Regions from separate parts of the Homo sapiens genome. Here regions 2 and 3 are each linked to region 1. Evidence: promoter capture Hi-C in human tissues and cell types (Jung and others, 2019). All regions are on one chromosome and are shown on one strand. The core of a region is centred on a gene start or on the middle of the fragment in contact, and the rest is flanking DNA. Distances in the headings are between cores, read along the strand shown.

The links. Contacts are between HindIII fragments. The study calls those that stand out against the background at their distance.
Region 2: a fragment that was not itself captured here is called in contact with the fragment with the promoter of ACSF3 in region 1 in 1 of the 25 tissues and cell types used here (small bowel).
Region 3: a contact is called between the fragment with the promoter of MVD here and the fragment with the promoter of ACSF3 in region 1, in 2 of the 25 tissues and cell types used here (dorsolateral prefrontal cortex and mesenchymal stem cells).

Annotation. Positions count from the first base shown.
Region 1 is chr16:89,091,583-89,096,070 of GRCh38, forward strand. It overlaps ACSF3 (acyl-CoA synthetase family member 3), which reads left to right and starts at 2,270. Exons shown (of 11, transcript NM_001243279.3): 1 at 2,270-2,414. RefSeq lists a silencer at 2,034-2,443 and enhancers at 2,864-3,053, 4,273-4,442. The HindIII fragment of the contact is 24,302 bases long and covers 1-4,488 here.
Region 2 is chr16:89,400,758-89,405,180 of GRCh38, forward strand. All of the region lies in intron 2 of ANKRD11 (ankyrin repeat domain containing 11), which reads right to left. All of the region lies in intron 1 of LOC128462377, which reads right to left. Among named protein-coding and RNA genes, the nearest start is that of ANKRD11, 88 kb to the right of the region's middle. RefSeq lists enhancers at 631-1,131, 1,132-1,632, 4,282-4,331. The HindIII fragment of the contact is 6,709 bases long and covers 1-4,423 here.
Region 3 is chr16:88,660,452-88,664,771 of GRCh38, forward strand. MVD (mevalonate diphosphate decarboxylase) reads right to left here and starts at 2,640. Exons shown (of 10, transcript NM_002461.3): 1 at 2,560-2,640. The coding sequence starts at 2,629. SNAI3-AS1 (SNAI3 antisense RNA 1) reads left to right here and starts at 2,922. Exons shown (of 4, transcript NR_024399.1): 1 at 2,922-2,949. RefSeq lists silencers at 2,385-2,804, 3,145-3,304 and an enhancer at 2,885-2,934. The HindIII fragment of the contact is 7,255 bases long and covers 1-4,320 here.

The DNA.
Region 1 (4,488 bases), core at 1,020-3,519:
GGGGTCTGATGTCTCTTGGATGTCCCAGTGAGATGCCAGGTGGGCACTTAGGACCCTCCCTGTCCACATGTTCTAAACTACATTGACGTCGTCTGCCTGGTTGGTGCGGCCACTTTCACTCCCTGCGCTGGATGTTCTGCAGCCCTTCGTCTGCTAATGTCCACGAGTTTACCTGACAGCTGACTTCTCTCTGTTTTCTCTGCCCTCCCTTCCTGAAACTACCGTATTTAGCATATTGGATGCCTGCCTGAGCCCACTGATTTTTTTATCTTTCCTCTCCTGTTTTTCATCTCTCGGTCTTTCTGTTCTATTTCTAGGAGACGTCCTTTAGCCCTTCCCTTAGGGTTTTTACTCAGGCTGTTGTATTCTGACCCCTCCAGCCCCCCTTTATGTTACTGGAACGCTCTTTCTCGGGGCATCTCGCTCTGGACTCATGGGGGCTGTCGCTTCCCTTGTCTCCCTGAGGGTATTAACAGGGGGTGGTTTTGGGGGTCTCTTCACTCTGCACAGCCTGGCTGCCTGCAGTTGTTCTGCTGGTTGTTTCAGCCCACGTCTCTCTGGCTAGAGGCTGTCCTCCAATGTCTGCTAATCCCTGACTGCTCCTGCTTCCCACCTGCCACTATGATGCTGACCAGAGCCGAGGCACAGATGGGACCCCTGCTCATAGGATGACTGGGCCATTTCTCGGAGACTGCACCCTCCCCCCACTGCCACCCTCACAGAGCCATGGCCAAGGACCACGGGAGCTGTCACCCTGTCCCAAGTCCTGTCTCTAGGTGGGTGACGCAGCCTGAGCTCTTCAACTTCCCAGGGATAGAAATTTGCGCACACACGTCCTGGGGCTGAATCCTGATGTTAGACGCCCTCCTTACTCTTCCTACTGCCCTCGTCGGAAACACCATTCAGCCTGCTGAGTCCTGGAAGCAGACAGAATTCTGACACCAGATCAAGCCTGTCCCAGTGGCAGAGGGTTGGACTTGCTTTTTCTGCATGATACCTAGCAGGGTGGCAACCAGAGGCACTAGAAGTTTGGGTTTGTTCTCCCACGCTCTGTGTTACAAACTTCCCCCAGATCCAGCTCCTTCCTCCCAGGAAAACCATCCTCGGGCTCCTGAAGTGCCCTTTCCTGAGCTTTCCAAGGACACAACTGCTGCCCCAGCAATCATCACAAGAGAGGAAGATGGGCATGGAAAATAATACACTTACAAAAAAACTGTGCAAGGTTCTGCAGATAATTTTTTTTTTTTTTTGAGACAGTCTCACTCTGCTGCCCAGGCTGGAGTGCAGTGGCGCAATCTCAGCTCACTGCAGTCGCCACCTCCCAGGCTCAAGAGATTCTCCTGCCTCAGCCTCCCGAGTAACTGGGATTACAGGCACCTGCCACCACTCCCGGCTAATTTTTGTATTTTTAGGAGAGACAGGGTTTCACCATGTTGGTCAGGCTGGTCTTGAACTCCTGACCTCGTGATCTGCCTACCTCGGCCTCCCAAAGTGCTGGGATTACAGGCGTGAGCCATCACACCAGGACGGTTCTGCAGATAATTTGTACTACTGTTTGCCAGTACATGTCTTTGTGTTATTAGTATTCATTTTAGGGGAAAAACCCTCAAATTTCAGCCAACTGGACTTTGTGTTTGGCTTTAAATGTTTTCCGCCACTGTCCATCCAACAGTCTCGCTTCATATTCGTATCCTGGTTCCCAAGTCCCTTCGAGGAGAGATTCTCAAATGCGGTCCGTTTAAAATCACCCAAGAAATACAAAAATTAGACAGGCATGATGGCGGGCGCCTGTAGTCCCAGCTAATTGGGAGGTTGAGGCAGGAGAATCACTTGAACCCGGGAGGCGGAGGTTGCGGTGAGCCGAGATCACACCACTGCACTCTAGTCTGGGCGACAGAGCGAGACTCCATCTCAAAATAATAATAATAATAAGAAAAAGTAACAACAATAATAATAATAATAAAATCACCCAGGAGCTCAGCGTGCAGACCCCCAGCCGCAAAGCCCAGAGAGCCCCTTTTGGGAGGACGGGGCGAGGCCCAGCAATCCGCGTTGGGAGTGGTCCCGCGCGCCGTTCTGATCTGGGCAGCCCTGGGCTAGCGGAGACCACGGCGCCTTGCCTCGGCCACGGCTCACGAGACGCCCGCGGCCCCGACCCCGCCACGACGGGACGGGCGGGACAGGGGAACACGCGCGCCCGGAACCCGCCGCCACGGCGCCGCGCCGGGGGGACGCGCTTGGGCGACGGACGCGCCGCGCCGGGGAAGCTGTTGGGCGCCGGAACTGGTCCGGCCCGACTCACGACCCCGCGGGACCCGGCCGGAACCCGGCCCGACCCCGGCGCGCGCGCGGCGGAGGACGAGGAAGAGTTGTGGCGAGGCAGATCCTGCCCCGTGGCCGCGGCCGTCTCGTAGGTGCGGGCGGCGGGGCCCACGGGACCGCGGCGGGGTCGGCCGGGCGCAGAGCTCTCGGGGGCGCGGGCTCCGGCGCCCGCCCCTGGGTCGCAGCTGGGCTTGAGCCGTGGCCCGTGGCGCGGTCGCTTCCCCGCGAGCCGCCTGGGGCCGGGCGTCGGCCTTCCCGGGACGCCGAGCCTCTCGTGTCCGGTGGGGAGCGGGGCCCCCGCGCGGGGTGCGGGGAGAGAAGCTGTGCGGACGCCGGGCCCGGTGATACCGTCGAGCCGGCGGGGTCCGTGTTCAGGCATCCTCAGAACGAATCGTCTTTGGTTGTGTTTGGAATAAATTCACTTCCATTTCTCATTGGGCTTCAGAAGTCACCCTTGAAGTACTCCCCGTTTTAGTTGTTTGCTGCGTGCACCTTGCTGGGCGCGTGGGGCACAGGTTCACAGCCGGCCTAGCCCCTGAGGGCATGTAGATCTATGAGCAAGCAATGGAGACGTGCGGCCGGCCGTGAAGTATTTGGAAGGTACTGCAGGCAGCCCATTCCCTGGAGAGAGGGAAGGTTTAAAGGGGTGAGGCCCGGTGCAGTCAGGAGTTGATGTTGCTGTCCTGAGTCTAAATTCCACCAGGCAGGCCAGGTGCAGTGGCTCATGCCTGTAATCCCAGCGCTTTGGGCAGCAGAGGCAGGAGGATCACTTGTGGCCAGGAGTTCAAAGCCAGCCTGGGCAACATGGTGAGACCCCTATCTCTACAAAAAAATGTAAAAATTAGCTGGGTGTGGTGGCGTACACCTGCACTTCCAGCTACTGGTTAGGCTGAGGCACGAGGATTTCTTGAGCCCAGGAATCGGAGGCTGCAGTGAGCCATGACAGCACCATTGCACTCCAGCCTAGGTGGCAGAGCAAGACACTGTCTCAATAAATAATAAAACTGAAAAAGAAGAGGTGATATTTGAACTGGGCTTGGAAGAATGATTAGGAATTTGCTAGAAAGGGAACACGTTTAGAGATAGGAACACGAATTGTGTCTGGGGCATAGTTGTTGCTTTCCCATCCTGGGAGGACAGACATTCGTGTTAGGGCCCAAGGCTGAGACCTTGTTGAGGAGGGGGTTCACATGGTGGACCCAGGAGCACGGGTGTTACTACCGGTGGACCCTGGGGACCCTGCGAGCTTTGTAGCGTGAAGCCTGGCTCAGGCTGGTGTCCTCTCCGCAGGTGTTGGAGGACATAAGATGAGGCTTCCCTTGCTCTTGCTCCTTTGGCTCTGAACCATCTCCTCAAGGCAGACAGAAATGGCGGATTAAACTGTGGGCTTGGGATAGTTGTAAGTGTCACCTTTCCAGATGGCATTTTTAAAATAGTATTTTTCTTCCTAAAATGGATATGGGTTTCAAGTGTATTTTTCCTTTTTGGTTTTTTTTATTTGAATGTACTGCTCATGAATGCAATGTGAATGTCTGTTACTTAAAAATGTAATTTTGAAAATAACCCTCCAAACCACAGGTGTGATGCTGAAACGCATCCTGCCCCGCAGGCCGAGCACAGCCCTCCTCTGCCCCACGCTCTCATCGGGGCAGCCGACAGGAGGAAGTGCCGGCATCCACTTCAAACACAAGGTCTGGGGGGGCGGGGGTGTCAGGTGTGGTGGTGAACAGGTCAGGTGTCGTTTTATTCATGTTGAAAGCAGCCCTTCATTTGAATGCGAGTGTCATTCTCATCTAGTAATTTTTGTTGCGAGGCTCCATGGGGAGCACCCTGCTGAGCACGGCGCGGCCGTTTGTCTTCTGCCTGGCCTGTGCCGGGCCATTCGTACATTCTCACGTGAAGCCTGTGAGGCAGGTCTTGTTACTGTGCCATCTTAGCGGTGGGAAGTGAAGGGCTAGGCCAGTGAGGAAATGAGGACAAAGGCAGCAGCCGTTCAAGTCGAAGCCTGTGGTGACTAACTCTGCCATTAACCAGCACTCCAGTTAGGAGGGAAAAGATGCATCCCGCTGCGCTGCATGTGTGTTCCCGAGAAGCCCCAGTGCCTTAGTGGTCTGATCTCAGAACCTGATGGCTAGAACACCGAGAGGTCCTGCCTCCCTCCCCGAG
Region 2 (4,423 bases), core at 766-3,265, 310 kb after region 1:
CATCTGCTGCCCCAGGCTTCCCTGCGCTGGGGGCCGGTCATCTGCTGCCCCAGGCTTCCCTGCGCTGGAGGCTGGTCATCTGACGGGAACCCCTGCAGCCACCTGGACCAGCTGCACACACCTTGGACGCCTGTCGCCCTCCACCCTCTGCAGACACCCTCTCACAGGCTCCACCCTGCTCGGGTTCACAGACACATCCCCCGTCTGCCCCGGGGCTGCCTGGCATGGCACCCAAGACCAAGATGGAAAGGGAGGCCCCGCGTGTGGGTGGACAAATCCACAACACGCTGGCCCTCAAGTTGTCTCAGTAATGTTATATATTTCTCTCTCCCCCCCACCCGCCCTCCCCCTCCCCAGAGGGAGTCTTGTTCTGCTGCTCAGGCTGGAGTGCAATGGTGTGATCTCGACTCATTGCAACCTCTGCCTCCCAAGTTCAAGCAATTCTCCTGCCTCAGCCTTCCAAGACGGCCGCCACCACGCCCGGCTAACATTTGGATTTTTAGTAGAGACCGGGTTTCGCCATGTTAGCCAGGCTGGTCTCGAACTCCTGACCTCGTGATCCACCCACCTTGGCCTCCCAAAGTGCTGGGATTACAGCACGAGCCACTGCGTCTGGCATTAAATTTCTCTCTTGATTATGCAGCCACTAAATATCACGCTGGGATAATGGGAAATTAATGCTAAGCTTTAAAATGCAGAATGTGAAGCCTTATATCCAGAGTAATCCTTATTTTGTAAAAAGTACATGATATATTCAACATTTTAGATTTACATGTTTTATCTTGGGTGGAAGGATTACAGGCGATTTTTACTTTCTTCTCTATGCTTTATTTACTGGTGTTATGAGTTGAAATGTGTCCCCCAAGAATGGTATGTTGAAGTCCTAGCCCCCCAACACCACAGACGATGGCCTTCCTGGGAAACATGGTCTTTGCAGATGATCCAGGTGAGATCGCTAGGGTGGGCCCTCACCCCACAGAACTAGCTTCCTTCTACAAAGGGCAGACGTGGACACTGAGCTGTGCACGCAGGGAGAACGCTGGGTGAAGAGGGAGGCGGAGATCGTGGTGATGCGTCTACAAGCCCGGGCGCACCAGAGACTCCCCCATCCCCCAGAACCCGCCGGGCACACCAGAGACTCCCCCATCCCCCAGAACCTGGAGAGAGGCCTGGAGCAGATGCCCGCCCCCACCCCTCCAGCACCGCAGAAGGAACCGGCCCTGCAGACAGCTTGGTCTCAGAGCCGTGGGAGAACAGATCCTTGCTGTGAAAGCTCCTGGTCTGTGGTGATTTATCACGGCAGCCCCGAAAGACCCCCACACCAAGTTTCACTCTCTGTCCATGGACCTCTTTAATGGAAATCCTGACTTTTCCATAAGGCACTGAATCTGTGTAACTTTTAGAGTAAGGAGGACGACCTACAGTTCACTGCATGAAAGCACAGCCCTTCCAACAAAGGCAGGCGAAATGTGGAACCAATTATATCTGGGTGCCTACACGTGACGTACGCCAGTTCTTTGTAGAAAGAACGAGGCTTGTCTCAGCGATACTAATGTACAGTTCACATGAACTCCTAACCTTAGCCAGCCACAATAAGGTATCTGGGATTGAGCGCTTATTTAAATCGGTAGGCACATCAATTTAAATTTAGGTAGTAGCTCAGCCTGTACCTAACACATGAGGAAGCCGAGGCGGGAAGATCGGTTGACTCCAAGAGTTCAAGAGCATCCTGGGAATGACAGGGAGACCCCGCCTCTAGAAAAACATTTAAAAATTGCTGCGTATGGTGCCGCACACCAGCAGAGTCCCAGCTACTCGGGAGGCTGAGGTGGGAGGATTGGTTGAGCCTGGGAGTTCAAGCCTTGAGTGAGCTGTGGGTGGGGGGGGCAGCACTGCAGGGTGAGGTGAAGGGGGTGGTTCTGCGGGAGGAGGTGAGGTGGCTCTGCGAGGTTAGGAGAGGGGGCAGGGGCTCTGTGGGGTGAGATAGGGGGTATCTGCAGGGTGAGGTGAGGGGACAGCTCTGTGGGATGAGGTGAGGTGGGGGTTCTGCGGAATGAGGTTGGGGGGGCGGCACTGCGGGAGGAGGTGGGCGGGGTGGGGCCTGCAGACCCTCCAGGCTCTCCCGGGGGAAGGAGCCCCATCAGGGCCAGCACTGCGCCACTCCCAACAAAGCAGGCAACCTAGCCTGCCAGTGGAGACCTCTTTTCCGCCTGGGCTCCAGCTCTAGAGCAAGGCCAGTCACCTCAGCCCCACCATCAAACACCAGGCTCCACATGGGCACTGCCTCGCTCAACTGCGTGGTGGCGGGTGGCCTGGAACGCTGCTGTCATCACTGCACGTGGACACATCATCAACCTCTCAGCGTGACGTGCCCTCGTGCTTTCAGGTAAAACACTACAGAGAAACTTCCTGTTGGCAGGTGGACCCCGCACTCCCTAGGGCCTGATCCGCTCCCTCTCTTCTGCTTTACGGGCACTGACAGGAAGTATCTGATGCGCACTCACTCACACCAGCCACGCACATGTTGTGAGCAATCCTGTGTGGCCTGCTCCCCCCTCCTGACCGGCCCCTCCTGACTGGCCCCAGCACCGCGTGGAAGAACATGGAGGAGCTCATCTGTCTGAGGATAGGAAGCAGCAGAGCACACGCAGGTGAGGGCAGAGCGGGGAACCCAAGTCCCGAGGAAGTTTCTCAGTAAGCGAGGCCCCGCGCTCTGGGAGGGCACCCCCAGGAAGCCCACACATAAAGCAACTGGACACACGCTCAACTACGACTGGGCAATGACAGTAGCTTAAAAAAAAAAAGTACACCACCAAACAGACAAAGACCAGAGACCACTTACATAAAAGCCCTGCTGCCTCCCCGGGAAGGGATTTCAAAACACTTCTTTAGGTGAGCACGACAGCACGTGCCTTTAATCACAGCTACTCAAGAGGCTGAGGCAGGAAGATGACTTGAGGCCATAAGTTTGAGGCCAATCTGGGCAACAGAGCAAGCCCACCTCTAAAAAAGTAAAAATAAAAAAATTAGGCGGGTGTGGTGACATGCGTCTGGAGTCCCAGCTACTCGGAAGGCTGAGGAAGGGGCATCATTTCAGTCCAAGAGTTGAGGCTGCAGTAAGCCATGACTGCACTCCAGCCTGGTCAACAAAGCAAGACTTGTCTCTTAAAAAAGCAAAACAACAACACATCTTTATATTATAGGGCACAGAAAGGAGCAAGATTATAAAACTAAAATAGGGTGAAAGAATGCAAGAGACTCAGAACTATGGCAAACTTATAACTAAAATTCCAAACTACAGGAAACTCTCAGAGCAAACGCTGCATCACATAAGCTGCTAGCCCGGCACATGATTGTGAAGAATCAGGAGTCCTCTCAGCACCAACAGACAGTCATGGACACAGCCCACAGGTGGCTCGACCCACCAGCCTCAGGCAGCATGGGGTTGAGAGGGGAAGCCCAGTTTGGCCGACTGTAGAACCCTGTTCTAGTCTCCTATCCACCCTCACCAAGGCACTAAATCACCAGCAAAGACTCTGAGAACATCAACATCTGTGTAACTAAGGAAAATGGAAGTGCAGGAAGGAATACATTTTTGTAATCAAAGGGCATGAAAAAAATTGCCTTCACTGAAAACACTGAAAAGGTACAACCCTATTATGTCTCCTGCTAGGAAAAATTTTCCTCTGCTTTTAAAGGATTAATAGCCACAAAATATTATTTTGTTATTCTGGTGTCCTCCAGAAAATGAGCCAACAGTTTGAAGGGTATGGGGTAAAGAGAAGAGAAGGAAAAGCTGCTTTTGAAAACACTGTTGACTCGCAAAGTTACCAGCACTCTATCAGGCTAATGCCTAGGTCAGGAGAAGACAGACGCAGTCACTACTATGGATCCTGAGGGCGAGAAACTCTGGATGCCACAAAGTGGCATGTTCAACCTTCCTACAAGCACACAGAGGTGAAGCCTGGAGAACAGGCAGGGACAGGCCCAGCTGGCCATGTGCTCAGCCACGCCTACCTCGCAAGGTCATTCTGAGGATGAAGGCATCATGGATCCAAATGCCACCTTGACGCTGAATGTACTACACAATAAAAGAACCACTGTAAATCACACTATTGACTCTTGCTTGGTTGATGTTCTTTCCTTTACAGTAAAGTGAACTCGTGGACAAACATCGTGTCCACAGACCACCATAAATGTAGTTTGTTGTTTTAAATAAAACTGAAATCAGACTTCCAAAAAGAAACATCTAAAAACTTCTCCTCTCCCATCCCACCAGAGCCATGGCCCACAACACAGCCCGACGCCCCGTCACACGCTCTCACAGGACAACTGCCCACACCAGTTAACCTGGTGTCACGGTGGAGGCGAGGTTGCGGTGAGTGGAGATCACGCCATTGCACTCCAGCCTGGGCGACAGAGC
Region 3 (4,320 bases), core at 1,390-3,889, 430 kb before region 1:
CTGGCCAATATGGCAAAACCCCGTCTCCACTAAAAGTACAAAAATTAGCCAGGTGTGGTGGCGCACACCTGTAGTCCCAGCTACTCGAGAGGCTGAGGCAGGAGAATCGGTTGAACCCGGGAAGCGGAGGTTGCAGTGAGCCGAGATCACGCCATTGCACTCCAGCCTGGGTGTCGCAGTGACAGTCTGTCTCAAAAAAATAAATATAAAAGTAATACAAATAAATATAAAAATATAAATATAAAATAAATAAATATAAAAAATAAAAATAAAAGGCCAGACGCGGTGGCTCACACCTGTAATCCCAGCACTTTGGGAGGCTGAGGTGGGCAGATCACGAGGTCAGGAGCTTCAGACCAGCCTGGCTAACACGGTGAAACCCCATCTCTACTAAAAATACAAAAATTAGCCAAGTGTGGTGGCACGTGCATGTAGTCCCAAATACTCAGAAGACTAAGGCAGGAGAATTGCTTGAACCCAGGAGGCGGAGGTTACAGTGAGCCAAGATTGTGCCACTGCACTCCAGCCTGGGTGACAGAGCAAGACTCTGTCTCAAAAAAAAAAAAAAAAAAAAAAAAAATAGCAGAAGAGAAAATCCAGAAATAGACCCACACAAACATGCCCAGCTGATTTTTTTTTTTACAAAAGTGCAAAAGCAATTCAATAGAGGAAGGATAGCCTTTCTGGGCTAACTGGACAACCTTGGATCACAGACTTAAATATAAAAGGCAATCCTGTACAACTTGGAGGAAAGCAGACAATCTTCAGGACATAGGGCTAAGCAAAGAGGTCTTAGACTTGACATCAACATTGATACACTGAACTTCTTTAAAATGAAAAACTGGCTCTTTGTTAAGAGGACAAAAAGATTAGCTAGTTTGGGAGACAATACCTGCAAACCACATGTCCAACAGGAGACTAATATCTAGAATACATATTTTATTTTTTTTCAGTAGAGACGGGGGTTTCACCATGTTGGCCAAGCTGGTCTCAAACTCCTGACCTCAGGTGATCCGCCCACCTCAGCCTCCCCAAGTGCTGGGATTACAGGCTTGAGCCAGCGTGCCCAGCCTAGAATGTGTAATGAACTCTCCAAACTTATAGTAAAAAAGCAAACCATCCAGTTCGAGCGTGGACACAGAATATGAAGAGAGATTTCACCAAGAAAACCCACAGATGGCAAATAAGCACAAAGAAAGATGCTCCACGTCACTGGCCAACAGGGAAACGCGAATGAGGACCACAGCACCCTGCCAGCACATCCCTACCAGGACGCGGCTAAAATGAAAAACAGCAACTCCACCAAATGCTGGTGAGGATGCGGAAAATCTGCATCACCGTAGGGATGCAAAATGGCCCAGCCACTCTGAAAAACAATTAGACAGTTTCTTTAAAAAAAAAAAGTATATATATAATATATATATGTATATATACACACACATACATCTATATAGGTGTATACATATACACACACATATATCTATACAGGTGTATATATATATACACACACACAAACATACATATATACATAGAAAGAGAGAGAGAGACAGAGAGGCATATATATATATCTACCATCTGACCCAGCAACCGCACTCCTGGGCATTTATCCCAGAAGAATGGAAATGTATGTTCACACAAAAACCTGTATACAACATTTTATGGCAGCTTTATTGGTAAGGGAAACACAAAAAAATTAGCCAGTCGTGGTGGCGGCTTCTGGAAAGAAAAGAAAGAAAGAAAGAAAACGTTAGATGCTCTTTGCGGGGTGAGGCCTTGGCTAGAGAGAGGGTGGTCCATGGATTCCACGGACTGGCTCAGCAACAGAGGGGCAAAGCACTGATACAATCCCGGGGCACGTCCACATTCTATGCTGAATGAAATAAGCCAAACTCAAAAGATACTGGGTGGGCCACATAACTGCGATTCCAGTTTCAGAACATTTTGAAATGACGTTACAGAAATGAGTGGTCAGTGGCGGCCAGGTAACCCCGGCGCGAGGGGAGGGGCGGGGCTGTGAACGCACAGGTGCGGACCGGCCTCCCCGGCACGGATGTGGGCCTGCGGGCCCCCCATTACCGCTCCTTGGAGGTTACCGCTGGGAGAAACGGGGCGAGGGAGGGACACAGGGTCTCGGGCTGGGGGAGCAGTGGCGCGATTTCCGCTCACTGCAGCCTCGACCTCCCGGGCTCTGGCCATCCTCCCGCCTCAGCCTCCCGAGTAGCTGGAGCCACAAACGCGCACCACCACGGCGGATTCTTACGATTCATGGGAATCGATGATTGATGATTTCGATAGTTCGGTAATCGCTAATGGGCAGGCGCCGGGCGACCCTGCAGGGGCGGCAGCCGTCGCGGGGGAACGGGTGGCGCCGAGCTTGTCACGCGAAGGAGCGCGCGGCCCCGCCCGACCACCGCCGCGCCCCTCCCTGAGCCTCAGTTTCCCCGTCTGTCGAGGCCCTGGGAGGGCAGGACGGAGCGCGCCGCCGAATCAGCGCGCGACCCCCGCGTACCCGGCCTCGCTCCCGGCCATCCCCGTCCCAGGCCGGCCCGCGGCACTCACAGTACTTGATGACCGCGATGTTGACCGGCGCTGTACAAGTGACTGCCGCCAGCGGCTTCTCCGAGGCCATGGTCCCACCGCGCAGTGACCCCAGCTCCACAGCCACTTACGGCCCGCGATCCCACCCCAGAGGCCTCTGCCTCCTCACGCGCTACCACAGGATTGGCCCGTGCGAGCCCGGCTGCTCGCGCGCCGACCAATCAGCGGCGAGTCGGGCGCACGCATTACCTCTCAGCCAATGGACGGGATCGGACGATGGGTTGCTGACGTAGGTCCGCCCCACCCGCAGGGTGCGCTCGCCAGGCCTGGGGCGTGGTGTTGTCTGCGCAGGCGCCGTGTGCCCAGGCGCCTGGCGTCCGCGTCGGCGATCCGGGGTCTGGGCGCGGCGAGGTGGGCGCTGTTGCCTGTGGGGGCTACCTGTCTGCTGGTGCTGTGCGGGCTTGTGCGGGGCTGTGCGGCAGCTGTGTGGGGCCCGTGAGGAGCTGTGCGGGGGGCTGTGCGAAGGGCTGTGTGAGGCGCTGTGCTGGGGGCTGTGCGGAGACCTTGAGGCGCTGTGCGGGGTCCGTGAGGCTCTGTGTGGGGCGCCGTGTGGGAGACTCTGCGGGGGCCGTAAAGGGTCCGTGAGGCGCTGTGTGCGGGTTGTGAGGCGCTGTGCGGGGACCATGAAGGGGCCGTGGGGCGCTGTGCGGGTGCCGTGGGGCGCTGTGTGGGAGGGAGGCTGTGCGGGGCCGTGGGACGGTGTGCGGGGCTGAGGGGAGGGCGGGTCGCGCTGTGCCCTCCTTGAAGCTCTTGGACGGCCCCGCTGGGTATGGGGGTGCACACAGGCCCGAGGGCAGGCGCTGGAGGATGTATCCCGGGATCCACTCTTAACCCGGCAGCCGAAGGCACCCTGTCCCGCCGCCCACAGCCTTCTCCGCGCCATGTCCTGGGCCAGGATCCCCCGCCACGGGGCTCACACGAAAGACCCCGGGGCGGGGAAGCCCCGCAGCCCGGAGCTGGGTCCAACCTGCATTAAGGTGGGCGTCTCAAATACCCCCTGTAAGGCCCTGTAGGAGCAAAGCCTTGGACTGGGTTGCGGCGCTTGTGTGTGCATTGACTTCTCCTGTGAAACGTACAGGAACATTTAAGCGTGCCGTTCCCTGCCATTCATTCCAATCATGTGCCACGCCCCCACTATTTCTAGAGTTTTCTCACCCCAAACAGAAACTCTGTCCCCTTAAAACAATGACTTCCCATTTTCCCCTTCCCCTTTTAAAATTTTACCTTTAGTTTTTAAATAGCTCAGATTGGCTGGGCATGGTGGCTCACACCTGTAATCCCAGCACTTTGGGAGGCCGAGGTGGGCGGATCACGAGGTCAGGAGTTTGAGACCAGCCTGGCCAACATGGTGAAACCCTGTCTCTACTAAAAATACAATAATTAGGTGGGCGTGTGGTGCACGCCTGTAATCCCAGCTACTGGGGAGGCTGAGGCAGGACAATTGCTTGAACTCAGGAGGCGGAAGTTGCAGTGAGCCGAGATGGTGCTGCTGTACTCCAGCCAGGGTGACAGAGCAAGACTCCATCTCAAAAAAAAAAAAAAAAAAAAAAAAAACTCAGATTTCGGAAAATAGGGGAGTATGCAGTGTGAAGTGTCCACTCTGCCTAGCCACCTACTTCTATTACCAGAACCATCATACTTATAAATTCTTTATTTTTTTCCAGAAATAGAAAAAAAGTCTGTTTTTTTTCTCACTCTGTTGCTCAGGCTGGAGGGCAGTGG